Regions from separate parts of the Homo sapiens genome. Here regions 2, 3, 4 and 5 are each linked to region 1. Evidence: promoter capture Hi-C in 16 types of primary human blood cells and fetal thymus (Javierre and others, 2016). All regions are on one chromosome and are shown on one strand. Each heading gives the region's core, a stretch centred on a gene start or on the middle of the fragment in contact. The rest is flanking DNA. Distances are from core to core; before and after follow the strand shown.

What was found. The method cuts DNA at HindIII sites, captures the fragments that hold promoters and counts their contacts. A CHiCAGO score of 5 or more calls a contact.
Region 2: a contact is called between a fragment that was not itself captured here and the fragment with the promoter of TEP1 in region 1, in 1 of 17 cell types (monocytes). The highest score is 5.5, in monocytes.
Region 3: a fragment that was not itself captured here is called in contact with the fragment with the promoter of TEP1 in region 1 in 1 of 17 cell types (M1 macrophages); the score reaches 5.9 in M1 macrophages.
Region 4: a fragment that was not itself captured here is called in contact with the fragment with the promoter of TEP1 in region 1 in 1 of 17 cell types (monocytes); the score reaches 5.1 in monocytes.
Region 5: the fragment with the promoter of METTL17 here is called in contact with the fragment with the promoter of TEP1 in region 1 in 1 of 17 cell types (monocytes); the score reaches 5.2 in monocytes.

What each region holds. Positions count from the first base shown.
Region 1 is chr14:20,412,172-20,414,919 of GRCh38, reverse strand. TEP1 (telomerase associated protein 1) reads left to right here and starts at 1,419. Exons shown (of 55, transcript NM_007110.5): 1 at 1,419-1,515. RefSeq lists enhancers at 1,216-1,265, 1,766-1,835, 2,386-2,555, 1,665-2,581. The HindIII fragment of the contact is 9,686 bases long and covers 1-2,748 here.
Region 2 is chr14:21,204,311-21,207,058 of GRCh38, reverse strand. LINC00641 (long intergenic non-protein coding RNA 641) reads left to right here and starts at 159. Exons shown (of 2, transcript NR_038971.1): 1 at 159-448. The HindIII fragment of the contact is 2,828 bases long and covers 1-2,748 here.
Region 3 is chr14:21,048,039-21,050,786 of GRCh38, reverse strand. LOC105370398 (a long non-coding RNA gene) reads left to right here and starts at 2,092. Exons shown (of 4, transcript XR_943588.3): 1 at 2,092-2,525; 2 at 2,641-2,732. It also overlaps a transcript of NDRG2 not described here. The HindIII fragment of the contact is 2,346 bases long and covers 156-2,501 here.
Region 4 is chr14:21,014,879-21,017,626 of GRCh38, reverse strand. NDRG2 (NDRG family member 2) reads left to right here. Exons shown (of 16, transcript NM_001320329.2): 16 at 1-855. The coding sequence ends at 31. Among named protein-coding and RNA genes, the nearest start is that of MIR6717, 7.1 kb to the left of the region's middle. The HindIII fragment of the contact is 1,061 bases long and covers 720-1,780 here.
Region 5 is chr14:20,988,667-20,991,414 of GRCh38, reverse strand. It overlaps METTL17 (methyltransferase like 17), which reads right to left and starts at 1,435. Exons shown (of 14, transcript NM_022734.3): 1 at 1,338-1,435; 2 at 1,032-1,185; 3 at 817-951. The coding sequence starts at 1,412. RefSeq lists an enhancer at 859-908 and a silencer at 1,659-1,788. The HindIII fragment of the contact is 15,587 bases long and covers 1-2,748 here.

The DNA of each region.
Region 1 (2,748 bases), core at 170-2,669:
CAAGCACTTTGGGAGGCCAAGGTAGGAGGACTATTTGAGCCCTGGAGGTAGAGAGCCTGGGCAACATAGCAAAACCCTGTCTCTACTTTTTGTCTTTAAATTTTGGTTTAAAATTGTGCGTGGGGGTAAGTTACATTCTTTACGAATTATGTTTCAGAAAAATAAAAAGAGCTTTAAAATATTTGTTATAAAAAGGAAATGTTTTAGTTCAGGTTGCTATAACAAATTACCGTAGACCGGGTGGCTTAAACAACAAATATTATTTCTCACAGTTCTAGAGAATGGAAGTCCAAGATCAGATTGCCAGCATGGTCTGCCTCTGAAGATGAGGGTCTTCCTTGGGATTGCAGATGGCTGTTTTCTTGTATCCTCATATCGTGGAAAAAGAGCTAGCTAGCTCTTCCGTCTCTCCTTATGAGGCCACCAATCCCATTTATGAGTATTCTAAACTCCATGACCTAATGACCTCCCAGAGATCCCACCCTAAATACCATCGCATTGGGATTAGGGTTTCAATATATAAATTTTGGGGAGACACAAACATAAAGACCATTGCAGGGAGTGTTGGGACTGGTGGCAATAGAGGTTTCTAAGGAAGGAAAGGGGTACTGGCTCAGTTAATAGAGGACAGAATGCCCTCAATTCTGAGCGGAAGCTCAGCTGTTACCTGAGACTCAAGGGTACCTCTCTAAGGAAAGCAATGATATTTTCCAGAAGACAGCTAATCTGCTTTATATAAAGGCAGAAAGCATATTTCTCCTGCTACTATGTTTGGTCCTCTCTTTATGAAGCTAGGATTATTAACCTAAGGGTCACTTGTCTCTTTCCTAAGCCTGGTTCCATCTTCCTGGAAAGGGTTCAGCATTAATCATTCAGGATGGCTCCAGATAGATTCTGTGTGATCCACGGATCTCTCTTCTGATCAACAGGAGGGGAGGCACTTGCTCTCAGTTCAGCGAACTTTGATTGACTGATGTCTACACTTGGTTACAGGCGGTTGCTTTCCGCTTTCCGTCTCCTTTTAAGGAGTTCCTCAAAGGAACTTTAGGATGAATTGAGTCTGACCGTCTTTGATATTAGGAAGGAGAGGTGTACAGCTAGGCAGCGAGCATGCTAAAATCTTTTCCAGGAAACGGTGTTTGAAGAGTTAATGGGAGAAAAAAAGACGAAAATTAGCCAGAGGAGACGAATTTGGTAGAGGGGGAAGCCCTAGGGACAGGAGAAAATAGGACCAGAAAGGGAAAAAAAATAGAAACAATAACAAACTAAACTCGGGCCCCAGAAAAGGCGGCAGGGGTCCTGGGCATTCGCGTCGCAGCCCTGGCATGTCGTCTTGCCCGGCCCTCGGCTCGCTGCCCTTCCAGCAGCTGCTGCGCCCCGCCCGGGCCCGAGAGTCTCCGCCCGCACCGTCTCTTCTCAGATCCGCATCCGGCTCCTCCCCCGGCTGCCACCCTTCCCACCGGCAGAATCCAGAGCGAAGTTTCTGCTTCCTGCTGCGGGAATCGGACGCCCCAGGTCAGGCACCCAGGGTTTCCAGCCCCAGTCTAAGGTAGGGTCCGAGCGCAGGCAGAACTTGCCCTGGCCCTGGGTCTAGGGCGCTGGGCTCTGAGGCTGAGAGCTGGGTGGGAAGTGCCTGGCGGGGCCGGTTAGGAACCACCCGAGACTCAGCTAGGGGTGCATCCACCCTGCTCCTCCCGGCGGCTCCGGGAAGGGGAGGGAGTGTATACTGCGTGAAAGGGGAGGTGAGAAAGGAGGAGGAGAAGGCTGAAGGAGAGGGAGGGACAGGAAGAGAGACCACGTAAGAATCATCCCCTCTTACTTCCTTGCCCTGTGTGCCCATCGAAAGGGGACAGTGGCTGTCACCAACAAATGGTAGTATGAGAACCGTTTGTGATAATAGAAACCCAGACTGTGCTTAAATGTGCTAGACTACCATACAGCCACTTGAAGAGTGAGGTGGAGGCCGGGCGCGGTGGTTCACGCCTGTAATCCCAGCACTTTGGGAGGCGGAGGTTGGGGATCACCTGAGGTCAGGAGTTTGAGACCAGCCTGACCAACATGGTGAAAACCCTCTCTACTGAAAATACAAAAAAATTAGCCGGGCATGGTGGTGGGCGCCTGTAATCCCAGTTACTCGGAAGGCTAAGGCAGGAGAATCGCTTGAACTCGGCAGGCAGAGATTGCAGTGAGCTGAACAACAGAGCCAGACTCCGCCTCAAAAAAAAAAAAAAAAAAAAAAGGAAAGAGTGAGGTGGGTATTAATGTGTTAACAGGGCAAGGTCTCTGAGATATACTAAGTGCAGAATAGCATCTAACTTATGATCCTGTTTGTGTAAAGCAAAAGCAAAAGCAGTGGTGATGGTGAAGGCATGTATTTGCATATGCATAGAAACTGTGAAACTGTTAGTATAAAACTGTGAGCAATGTTTACTTCCAGAGAAGGGAACTAGAGATGGAAGTGGGGACGGAACTTTAACTTTCCATTTGTGGTTCAGCCGAATCTCCTTTCAAAAACTCCAGGGTGCAAAACAATAAAATGAGCAAAATAGTGAGACTGTCCTTTTAAGGATAGGACAGTCTCACTATGTTGCTCAAATAAACTGTCCTTATTTTTCTGTTTATTTTTGGCTTGAGATCTCTTTTAAAAAAAATCTGAGTCAATTCTGAGTTTCCCCACTCCTTTCCTTGGGGGCTTATATAGGGCAACGACATGAGCAAAGTGTATTGGGCACAGAAGCCATCATTTTT
Region 2 (2,748 bases), core at 118-2,617, 790 kb before region 1:
ATTTGTGTTTGCATTAGTAACTTTCAAGTTAAATCTCAATTTTGAAAAGCAGGGCTTCTTCATTGGAGTTAACGCCCTTTGTGAGTAGAACTACAAAGCATAGTAAGAGGAAGGGGAGAACAGTGTAAGGGGGTGAATGCAAATGACAAAGGGATTAGTAGGAAGGAGTTAGAACCCAAGATAAATGCAGATAGGAAGAGGAAAGCATGTTTGGATTGTTTTTTTCAAGTGGCACTCAGAAATAAAAGTTTGGAGAAACATGGCTCTGAAGCTCTGACAAATTTGCATTTGCAAAAATAACTCCTACAAGACTTTCAGAAGTCTAGGAAAATTGTGGCTTTTGGATTATTACATTACCAAATTTGTGGAGTTTAATAGGTTTCAACTGTCAATGTGCATTAAAATTTCCTGGGAGCAGGGGGATGGGCTTTTAAATTCTGATGTCCAGGTGTGTGCTCCAGGCCTACTAAATCTCTGGGGTTGGGACTCTTCGTTGTTTTTTAAGTTGCCATAATTCCAATTTTTGGCCCAAATTGTGAACTACTCACCAAAGGCAAAACAAAACAAAAAACCCTGTGTGATAAAGAGGGGTGAGGATTAGGAAAGGACACGGGTTTCAAGAAACGGTGGCTGGGTGGCTGGCCAATAAGTTTAGTAGAGGGATGACTGTATATGTCAGAATTAAGTGCAGTAAGAGGATGTGTGAGTGGTATGTTTTCATCAAAGAACTGAAGGCAGCTAAAAGGGCCAAGGTGTACCCTCATTAAAGTCTAGGCCCCAGAGTAAAGAAGGCACCCAAAGAGTCATCTGGTGGTTAGGGAGGGGGAAAATTCCTTGTTATCAACGCATGTTACAGTGAGCTGTTAAAGCTATAGTACTGTCAGTAACACTTCGTGGCGATGGAAGTGTTTTATGATGCATTGACCAGTATAACAACTGGTGACTTTACTGAGCCTTGAGATGTGGCTAGTGTGAAGAGTTAGATTTAAATTTTTATTTAGAGACGTGTGACGTGAGACTACTTTATTGGATAGTTAAGTGCTGTAGAATATTGAGAAGTTTCCACACAAGTACTGCTAGTGGTTACTAACTCAAACGTACATGAACAAATGTGACTCCAATATTTTGTGTGTCCTGAGTTCATTGATGTTTTCTTTCCTAGACCTTAGGCTTTAATATTGAAGATTTCCCTAGTGAGGGCGTCTTCAATGGGACGATATTGCAGGCTTAATCCATGTTGCTCACACCTTCATATAGCAGTGCCTCTTACAGAATAAACTATTGTTAAATAGGAACCCATCTTGTCAATCAGTTGCTTCATGCCCAGGGAAGAGAGTATGTTTTATAGGCTTTGTGTGCAGCCTGTTAGGCCAGCGTTTAATTGACATAGACTGTTGTTTCTCAAACAACAGTTCTATTACGTACGTATGCAAATAATTTCTGTGCTTCAAGGAGCTTCAGAGAGATTGCCTTGTTCAAAGCCCTATGGTTATTCAAATGGTAGAGCCAAAAATTTGATCTATGTTCTGACTTAACTCCATGGGCTTTGGACCTTGGCAGAGGAAATGGTGTCTTTGAACTGTAGTCTGTAGTCCTAGAAATTGAATAAACTATTTCCTAAATAGAGGTAAGAGACTAGGATCCTAGCAACTTCTCTAAGTTAACAAAAGGGGAAAAATATCCCCATACCATTTTTCTCTTCATTCTATTAATGAGGGCTAGAGTCGTTTCATAGATTGAATAGTTTCAAGAGCATATTGAGCAGTGCCTGGCTAACAGCTGAAAGTCTGCCATTTCATGCAACTTTGTTAGGCTTTAGAAGTGAAGCAGGAATATAGAGAAAATACAGCTTCTCCCACCCACAACGTGTATTTTAAACCATTTCTTCTGGCCCAGAAGACAAACTTTTCCAAATATCTTGGGAAAACCACAGTTTCTACTCTTTGGAGACAAGAGTCTCACTCTCACACCCAGGCTGGAGTGCAGTCTCAACTCACTGCAACCCCTGCTCTCAGGTTCAAGTGGTTCTCCTGCCTCAGCCTCGTGAGTAGCACTCGACACCACACCTGGCTAATTTTTTTGTGTTTTTTGTAGAGATGGGGTTTCGCGTGTTGGTCAGGCTGGTCTTGATCTCTGGCCACCTCAGCCTTCCAAAGTGCTGGTATTACAGGTGTGAGCCACTGTGTCTAGCCAAGTTTCTACTCTTGATGCCTGCCATGGACTATTACAAGCACCTGGCAGTGACATTGCACGAGTTCTAAAGAAAGACTTGGTCTTTCCCACAGGGACATTAATGTGAAAGAGGTCCAGTGACAAAGATTCAGTCACTTTTGCAGACCCTCACAAGCCACAATAATGAAGTTGCAGTGAATTTGGGACATAGCCTTCCCTCCCCAAAATTCTTGATCCAAGAATCCACCCGTCAAGTTCAATGACTCAGACTCCATTTCTAGTGTGGTCGTTGGTTAACAACTTTACTAGTTTCCATCCAGGCTTAACCTTTCTATGGACCATAATGTCTTGGTGTCTGCTGCATTTATTGTCCCTCCCTGTTTTAAGGATACTTAAGTTTTTAAAGAGGCATAAATACTTCAAAGTCCCCATTGGCCCTCCTGGGGGAAATTACCTCAAACCACAGGGTAGTCTGCTAAATAACCAGCTAGAGCTAGCTGCCAGCCCAACTTTGCCCAGATCTACAATATTATTCTCGTTACTTTAGTTTACTCATCCCCCCAAACTTAGCTTTCC
Region 3 (2,748 bases), core at 79-2,578, 640 kb before region 1:
AAGTACTCTCGTGTGCATAACCACAGTACAGCCACCAAAAAGGGGAAATTGACATTGATCCATTATTATTATTACCACAAATGAAATTTAAAGATAGCATATAAAACACTCATATGCACGGCTATTTTATAAATATTAGTTAAGTGAAAGAAGCTTCAGAGAAAGCCCAAGCTCATTGGGCACTACTTTAGGTGTTTTAGTTCATCTTCCTCTGTGGTTACTAGCACTTCAGGGGAAATTCTGGGAAGCATTGCTCTGCAGGTTCTAGTTGACCATGAAGATCCTGTTCTGGATATGCCAAATTCAAGGGTAAAAAGTGGTAACCCTTACCAAAGATAAATGCTTGGGATATCTCAGGCCCACCCGGAGCTCCACCAAACAGGATCTCTGTAATGTTTTCACCCTGGTCCGGAGTAGCAGATGGGAGGTCCAGGCCCTTTTTCTTGTTGCATATCCTTATTTATGTTTCCAGCAGCCAATGGCACGGCCAGGGACATGCTTGACTAGTTTGCCATCAATTCCTCATGTACTGTTTTTTTCCCATCTCAATGATACAATATGAGCATTCAGGTGAAGGTCAGAAATGCAACGTGTCAGGATTACGGGCACTTAATACTCTTTTGGATGAACATGCTTTTGTCTCAAATCCGGGGGTCTGCCCATTTGCAGATTGATTTGCCAGTCCATGTATGATTTGATCTTGAAAGATATCTGGGCTGGGCACAGTGGCTCACCTGTAATCCCAACACTTTGGGAGGCCAAGGCAGGCAGAACATGAGGTCAGGAGTTCAAGAGCAGCCTGACCAACATGGTGAAACCCAGTCTTTACTAAAAATACAAAAATTAGCCGGGCATGGTGGTGCATACCTGTAATCTCAGCTACTCAGGAGGCTGAGGTAGGTGAATCGCTTGAACCTGGGAGGCCAAAAAGCTCAACAAGGTTGCAATGAGTCGAGATCGTGCCACTGCACTCTAGCCTGGGTGACAGAGCAAGACTCTATCTCAAAAAAAAAAAAAAAAGAAGAAAGATGTCTGAGATCCATTTGATATTGAATGCCACTTTGTAAATATCACAAGGCTTGTTCAAAAAAGCCCGAGTTCTTGCCTAAATTATTCATGTAATCTTGGGCAAAGTGTTTAAGTCCTCAGGGTTATTTTGCTCATTTGCAACATGAGGAAGGCATGACTAGATGATCTCCGAGAACACTGGACAAGATGTCTTGCAGCATTATAATGTTATGATTACTACTGGGAGAGCCCTAAAGCCATGGAGATAGGAAATTTCATCTTGTGCTAAATGCCACGACCCAAGCAGGAATTTGTACTAATTCACACCACAGTTAGTTTATGTTTTAAATGTGTAAGTTCAACTAAGTTTCTATGAAAAAACCATAGAAAGTAATGACCACAATGTTTTTCTGCTATAACCAATCCACTGGACATGAGTCACAGGCGTTGGTGGAGGTTTTGAGTGATGAAAAATGAACCAGAAAATGGAGCTGAATCAGAGGGTGGGAAAAATATAAGAGGCTTCCACGATGGAAGTGAGGGGATAGTAAGCCTTCCTAAGGACTAATTTAAATATCTCAGGAGGGGAAGTTGGAAATGTCACTAGAGCCCTGTCTCCATCAATTGCTGCAATAATCAAATCCTTTGGATGGGAGGGAATACAGAGGGCACCCTCAAAAGTTAGTGGTCCTAAGTCCTCCAACTTATTTTCATATCTTTGGATTCATAAATTCACAGAGGTTGCAGAGGAGAAAAACTTCCCTTAAGTAATCTTAACAGAAATTCTCCAAAGCCCCCTTTTACTTCTCCTTCAACTCAAAGTACCCATCCATTCCTCCCAAATAACCTTATCTACAGAAACTAATACATATTGTCCTTTTTGTCTGACCTTGAACCTTCCCTTATCTACTCTTGGCTAGGAGCTTTTTGGCAAGAGGCGGATGAGGAGGAGTTTGGCCTCCCTTGTTTAAATCCTTTGTTCTTCTGTCACGGAAGTCAGGCCTGCTCCATTCATCACAGGTTTGACCACTCAACATTTGACACCACAATGATAAATAGAAATGCTAACACCATTCAAACTTTCCCTACATGCTAGTCACTGTACTAAGTGCTTTATATGTATTGTTACTTTTAATCCACATTATACTCTTGTGAAGTGGTAGTGAAGATCCATGTCCCTGAAGGTATTCAAGCCCAAAAACCATCTGTTGGTAACATTATTGCCAGGCGCATTGGCTCACACCTGTAATCTCAGCAGTTTTGGGAGGCTGAGGAGAGTAGATCACCTGAGCTCAGGAGTTTGAGATCAGCTTATATAGATGGGGAAACTCCCACCTCCCTAAGCTAAGAGGCGTTCTATCACAGTGTGTATTTTCATCACGAGCACACATTTTTATTTACCTTTCCTCTTATGAACTGTGGACTTCTTACAAGATCTCATTAGCAATGTGGGCTTTCTCATGTCCCTGTGGCTCCGTGGATGTTCCCAAGCTTACTGGTTTTGGAGTCTTGCACAGGTAAGCATCCTGATAAGAGCTATAACTGCTCTTCTTTTTGCCCATTCATGGTGGGGTGGGGGTAGGGGGAGGACATTAGAATGAAGCTCTGAAGTCTTTGAAGCACTTTTGGAAGCCCAGTTGTGCAGGTGCATGGAAGAAATGTGATGAAATGAGTTGAAGCTCTCCCAAGGAGAAGAGAAGGCCCCCTGGATGTTGTTGCTACTGGTATGTTTTTTGGTGC
Region 4 (2,748 bases), core at 1-2,500, 600 kb before region 1:
CCCGGGGCACACCATGGAGGTCTCCTGTTGAATGGCCCTTGTTGCCCTAGAGTGGGACCCAGCCCTCACCTCCCCCAGAGCTAACCTGGGAGGTGCTGAAGGGGCATTGGGCCACCGTAAGCAAGGGAAAAAGGGCAGATCATGCGGGGAGATGACCTTGATCTTTGATTGCTACCCTAACCTTGACCTTTAACCCGTGATTCCCCCCAGCTCCTGGAAGAGATGTCCTAATATCTCTTAGGGACCCAGACCCCTAAATTCTCCTCCTCCCCCATTTTGATGTTAAGGTGGAGAGGGCATATGCATCCTCTGTCCTGATCTAGGTGTCTATAGCTGAGGGGTAAGAGGTTGTTGTAGTTGTCCTGGTGCCTCCATCAGACTCTCCCTACTTGTCCCATATTTGCAAGGGGAGGGGATTTGGGGCTGGGGCTCCATTCACCAAAGCTGAGGTGGCTTCTCATTAACCCTTTAGGACTCTGAAGGGTATGGACCTACGTGAATGTGTGTCAGGGGGAGACTTGCTGGTGGGTTAGTGGTCCTCAGGATGTGATAGAAACATCCAGTGTAAAAAGGAAGTTGGAATGGGAGTTGGCGGGCAGTGAACGAGTGTGGGGAAGGATTGGTGCTGGGGCAACAGGAAGGGGCCTGGGGCCGTTTGGCTGCACTAACTTTGGTAGCTCAGTGTGCATCTAGAGTGGGACTGGGGAGGGAGCTAAGCTTGGGCTGGGCTGCTTGGGGCTTGGCATAGGGTGGAAAGGGCTACCCTGGGGCTCTGACCACACTGTAGTATGTGTGGAGGGTGCCCTCCCGTCTCCCACAACTTCTGCTATAACAATAAACTGTAGAGGAATCTGAGTACCGTTATTATTCTTTGTCTAGGTGTGCCTGCATCATGCTCCTCTTCCTATCTTCTCCCTGTCCACGTCTCATATTCTCTTCTCAAAGTGATATAAACCCTGGGAGAGGGCCTTTGTGGCATAGGCACTTCACAAAATATGACCACATAGAAACTGGCTCTTTTCCAATACAACGGTGTTGCCTTGATATTGTAGTATTTTTAAGCCTGGGAGAGAGGAACCATTTAGATCTTAGGAGACTTCCTTATCAACTATGGGTAACTGAGAAAGGCCACAGGATTTCAGAGATACCACCAACATCACCACCTTTAAGAAAGAATTGAAGAGGCTGGGCAAGGTGGCTCGCATCTGTGATCCCAACACACTTGAGAAGCTGAGGTGGGCAGACCACTTGAGCTCAGAAGTTTGTGACCAGCCTGGGGAACATGGTGAAACCCCGTCTCTGCAAAAAATACAAAAATTAGCTGGGCTTGATGGTGCACACCTGTAGTCCCAGCTACTAGGGAGGCTGAGGTGGGAGGATCACTTGAGCCCAGGAGGTGGAGGTTGCAGTGAGCCACGGTCACACCACTGCACTCCAGCCTGGGCGACAGAGTGAGACTCCATCTCAAAAAAAAAAAAAAAAAAAATTGAAGAAGACTGATGACAGAAGTGCCCAAGGATATCTTGAGACCCACCTTCCTGTAGGATCCTCCCTAGGGGGTCACCTAGATTCCATTTTGGATGTTTTAGTGCAATCAGTAGACCAGGGTGCATGAACTTAACTGTAAGGGGTGGGCTGCTCATAGTTCATTCTGATCTGAAGACTCTTTCAGGAGGGGTGCAGCAAAAAGGAGGATTTATCTTGAGAATTCCTCTTCCCTCATGGAATCCAAGGGATCTGGGAGCTAATTAAGTCTATGTTTGTGGTTTATTAGGAAGCTTTTTCACAACTATGAACAATGAAGAGGAATTCTTATTTTGCAGCTGTTGCAGGCTGATTCTTAGGGTCTTGAGGCACAAGAAGTAAAAATGAGGAGGCACCTTGTAGCATTATTGACAACACTACTGTGATGGACTATTACAAGGTCTTTTGCTAGATTGCTTTACAGAAACTCCACAGGCAATTATACCCTTTCCTCAATGAAACTGAGCTGAGGACTAATGCACTTGATGTCTGGTGCTGACACACTGATTGACATGGAAATAGGATATGGAATATGCCCTTGATTCTTGAGCATTTCATCACTGTCCTTCATAGAACTGGGTCTATTTTAAATGTGGTAGGCCAGGGTCAGAAGGGGAAGCGGAGGTATTGGGTAACAAACAGGGTTATGGAGCTCGCTATTGGATGCTGAGGGTGTTGGGTGACCACACGCAGGGCAGGCAGCAGAGTGCGAAGCACCACACTGAAGAAAAGAAGCGGCATAATTGGAATCAGTGGGGACCAACTAGCTTCTCGGAAAAACACAAGGAAAAGGCAAAAACCTATAACCAGCATCAATCTTTACTGGCAATAGCTGCTGTTGTGTATTATGGATGGGAAGGCAAGTCTTTTCTGCATATCTGCCTACATAGATAACACTGTCAGCAGGGCAATCTCTACAAATGGGAGCACATTACATGTATGTGTAGATAGGTGAGTGTGTGCATACACATCTATCATGTAGGTGGGTGTGTCAAATGGGTGATGACTGTGTGTCTTTCCCATAGATGTCTCTGCATAAGAAATCTGAGTTTGGTAGAGAGAAAGATGCCCTCTGCTGGGAGCTAGTCGTGGGGTGGGGGTTTTGTCCTTGACTGACCTCTCTACTCTGTTGGAGAGCGACGAAAAGCTCAAGAATCAAGAGCATATTCCATGTCCCATTTCCATGTCAATCAGCTAAACATTCCAGTTTAGCCCATGGGGTCA
Region 5 (2,748 bases), core at 186-2,685, 580 kb before region 1:
ATGACTGTTCAGTTCAGTACTATTTAGCAAGTATCTACTGAACTACTGTGAGCCAGGTACTGTGAGGTGTGCAGGGAATGCAAGATGAATAAATGGTAGTGTCAAGGAGCTCACAATCATGAAACTAACTTGATGAATTATATTTACCCTCTTATCCCAGAAGAGGGTTTCAGTACTGGGCAGGGACCATCCAGGGACTTTATTTTACCTGAATAAAAACTTAGAAGGTCCTAATCCAGTGGACTTGCAGAAAAAAATAAATATCTAGATTTTAACAGTATATTGGTAGCCAGGCGCGGTGGTTCATGCCTGTAATCCTAGCACTTTGGGAGGCCAAGGTGGGCGGATCACCTGAGGTCAGAAGTTCGAGACTAGCCTGGCCACCATGATGAAACCCCGTCTCTACTAAAAATACAAGTAGCCGGGTGTGGTGGTGCACGCCTGTAATCCCAGCTACTGAAGAGGCTGAGGCAGGAAAATCACTTAAACCCGGGAGGCGGAGGTTGCAGTGAGCCGAGATCGAGCATTACACTTCAGCCTGGGTGACAGAGCAAGACTCTGTCTCAAAGCAAAAACAAAACAACAAAACAAACAAACAAACAAAAAACAGTATACTGGGACATTCTGACCTTTACCTAAGCAATCTCTAAAATAATCTACCTTCTTTTAGTAAGGCATCATTGTAACAACTGCTGCTCTGGTTAGAAAGTCAAATAAGAGACTTCAGTATCTGAGAGATTGTAGAATTATTTCTTACTCTTCATTTCTAACCGATATTTCAATCTCGCCCACTTTTTAATTATTCTTAAGTCCTACCTGGGTTTTCCAGGAATTTTTTCTCAAGATGCCTAGCCCGTCTTTGCAACTCCTCTGGCTCTACAGGCAAATGTCTGCTCCAGAGATAACTGGTCAGTGTTTGCACCTGATTCTCCATAGTGGGCCCAGCGCTCCCTATGGGCCAAAGACGAAAAGCGGAATCACTTGCATGTAGGTCCAGTCCCGTTTCTTCTCGCTTTCCCGCCGTTACTCACCAAGTAGCAATAACTGGGCACCGTTAGCCAGTGCCTGTGGCAGCCGCACGTGCGGCAGCTTTAGGATGCCAGGGTGCTGGCGATGAGGCCTCTTCTGCAGGAAACCGGACTTGTTATCTACCTGGGTCACTCCGGGTACTAAGGCGGCGAGCGCCTGCAGGCAGAGAAAGGTAGGTTGATTTCCTGGCAGAAAGGAAAGTTGCTGGCAATCGCTAGGGCGGGGGCTGCCAGGAGCGCTCCTCCTCTGCGCGGAGATGTCTCTGCAGATCCAGAGTCTCTCCGACAGCAGGGAATGTAGGCACTCACCCGGGCCTGGGGAGCCACTCCAAGGCCGGGGCACCATCTTCCTAATGTCAGTAGACACTTCAGTGCCGCCGCCATGGCTCCGGAGGCGAACCGGAAACGGAAATACAGGTGCCTGTGACCCTCAGTCCCAACGCCGCAAGGAGCAGCCTTCGCAGAACTTCTCCCGACAGTTTCAGCCAACGAGAAGAGCGAGTGTTTGCCAGCAGCCAATAAGCAATGGTTATATAAATAATCCTTGAGGCAGAAACCGTGTTTGGGCCGACTTGAAGGCTGCGTTGGGCCTGGTCACCGGCCCCAGAAATCAAGAGGGTGGGGTGGGGCGGGGCGGGACGGGACGGGGGCGGGATGGGGTTGGGTGTGAGCGCGCCAGCAAAGACTGTTTCTGGGAGTACTGACTTCCTGTGTTCTTTGCATTCCTCCGCGGAGAACTCTGAGTCTTGGGTTGTTTCCCTGTGTGAAAAAGGGAGACTGCAGTAACGGAAAGAAGAGAAAAATCAGATTTAAGCGACTGAAGAAAACAGAAATTAATAGTTAAATGATTATTGAATAGTTAATAGTTTGATAAATATTAAACCTAGTTAATAGGTTTATTTATTTTTTTACATTTGTTAATTTCTCTTCAAATGAGACCAGTCTTCTTAGTAAGCTAACATAACACTTACTGAGAACACCTATGTGCTAGGTACTTCAGGGAAAAGGACTGATCCCCACTTCACAGAAAACATGGTTCTGACGGGGACCCTCCTGTGTCTGCTGCTACGTCAGAGTGTTTCCCCCAGGCCCAGGACTTAGACAGTAGCCGTCTGATTACCTGAGGTGCAGAATCTCAGGTGGGTCCAGCCACTATTGTGACGTGATAATATAGCATAGGGGAATGGTCTCCAGAGTCTGCAAGCTCATCAACACCTTCATTCACTAGAGCATCAGAAGGATAAATGGCATATGCAAGGCGATATCTACTTTCGGGACCTGACAGTGGACAACTGCTACCTCAGTCTCCGAACACTTGAGCTCACCCAGTGTGTGATTTCTGTGGGCTCCTGGCCCCCTAATTTCCGTTACAGGTTTAGGATGTTCTCCCAGCACATCCACTTGACCTGTGTGTGGAACCAGCCAGTTCATCTGGAGGGCTAGACTCCTGAGTCATCAGGCTAGGGCCTGATGATCTCAGGCCCCAGCGCCCTAATTGGACTTTCCTTCTGTGGTTCTCTACCTTATTCGACTTCTTCCCCAAATCTGCAGACCTCACCGACTGCAGCCTGCCAGCTCTCTCAGGGCTCCTCATCTCGGGGTGAGGTGGGGTGAGGAGACATGGGTGGACAGGGGGAGAAGGGCCGCTCTGCCTCTTCCAGGCGGAACCGCCCTTCCTGTAGATGAATGCATGGCCCACTGACACATCCTAGGCTGACAC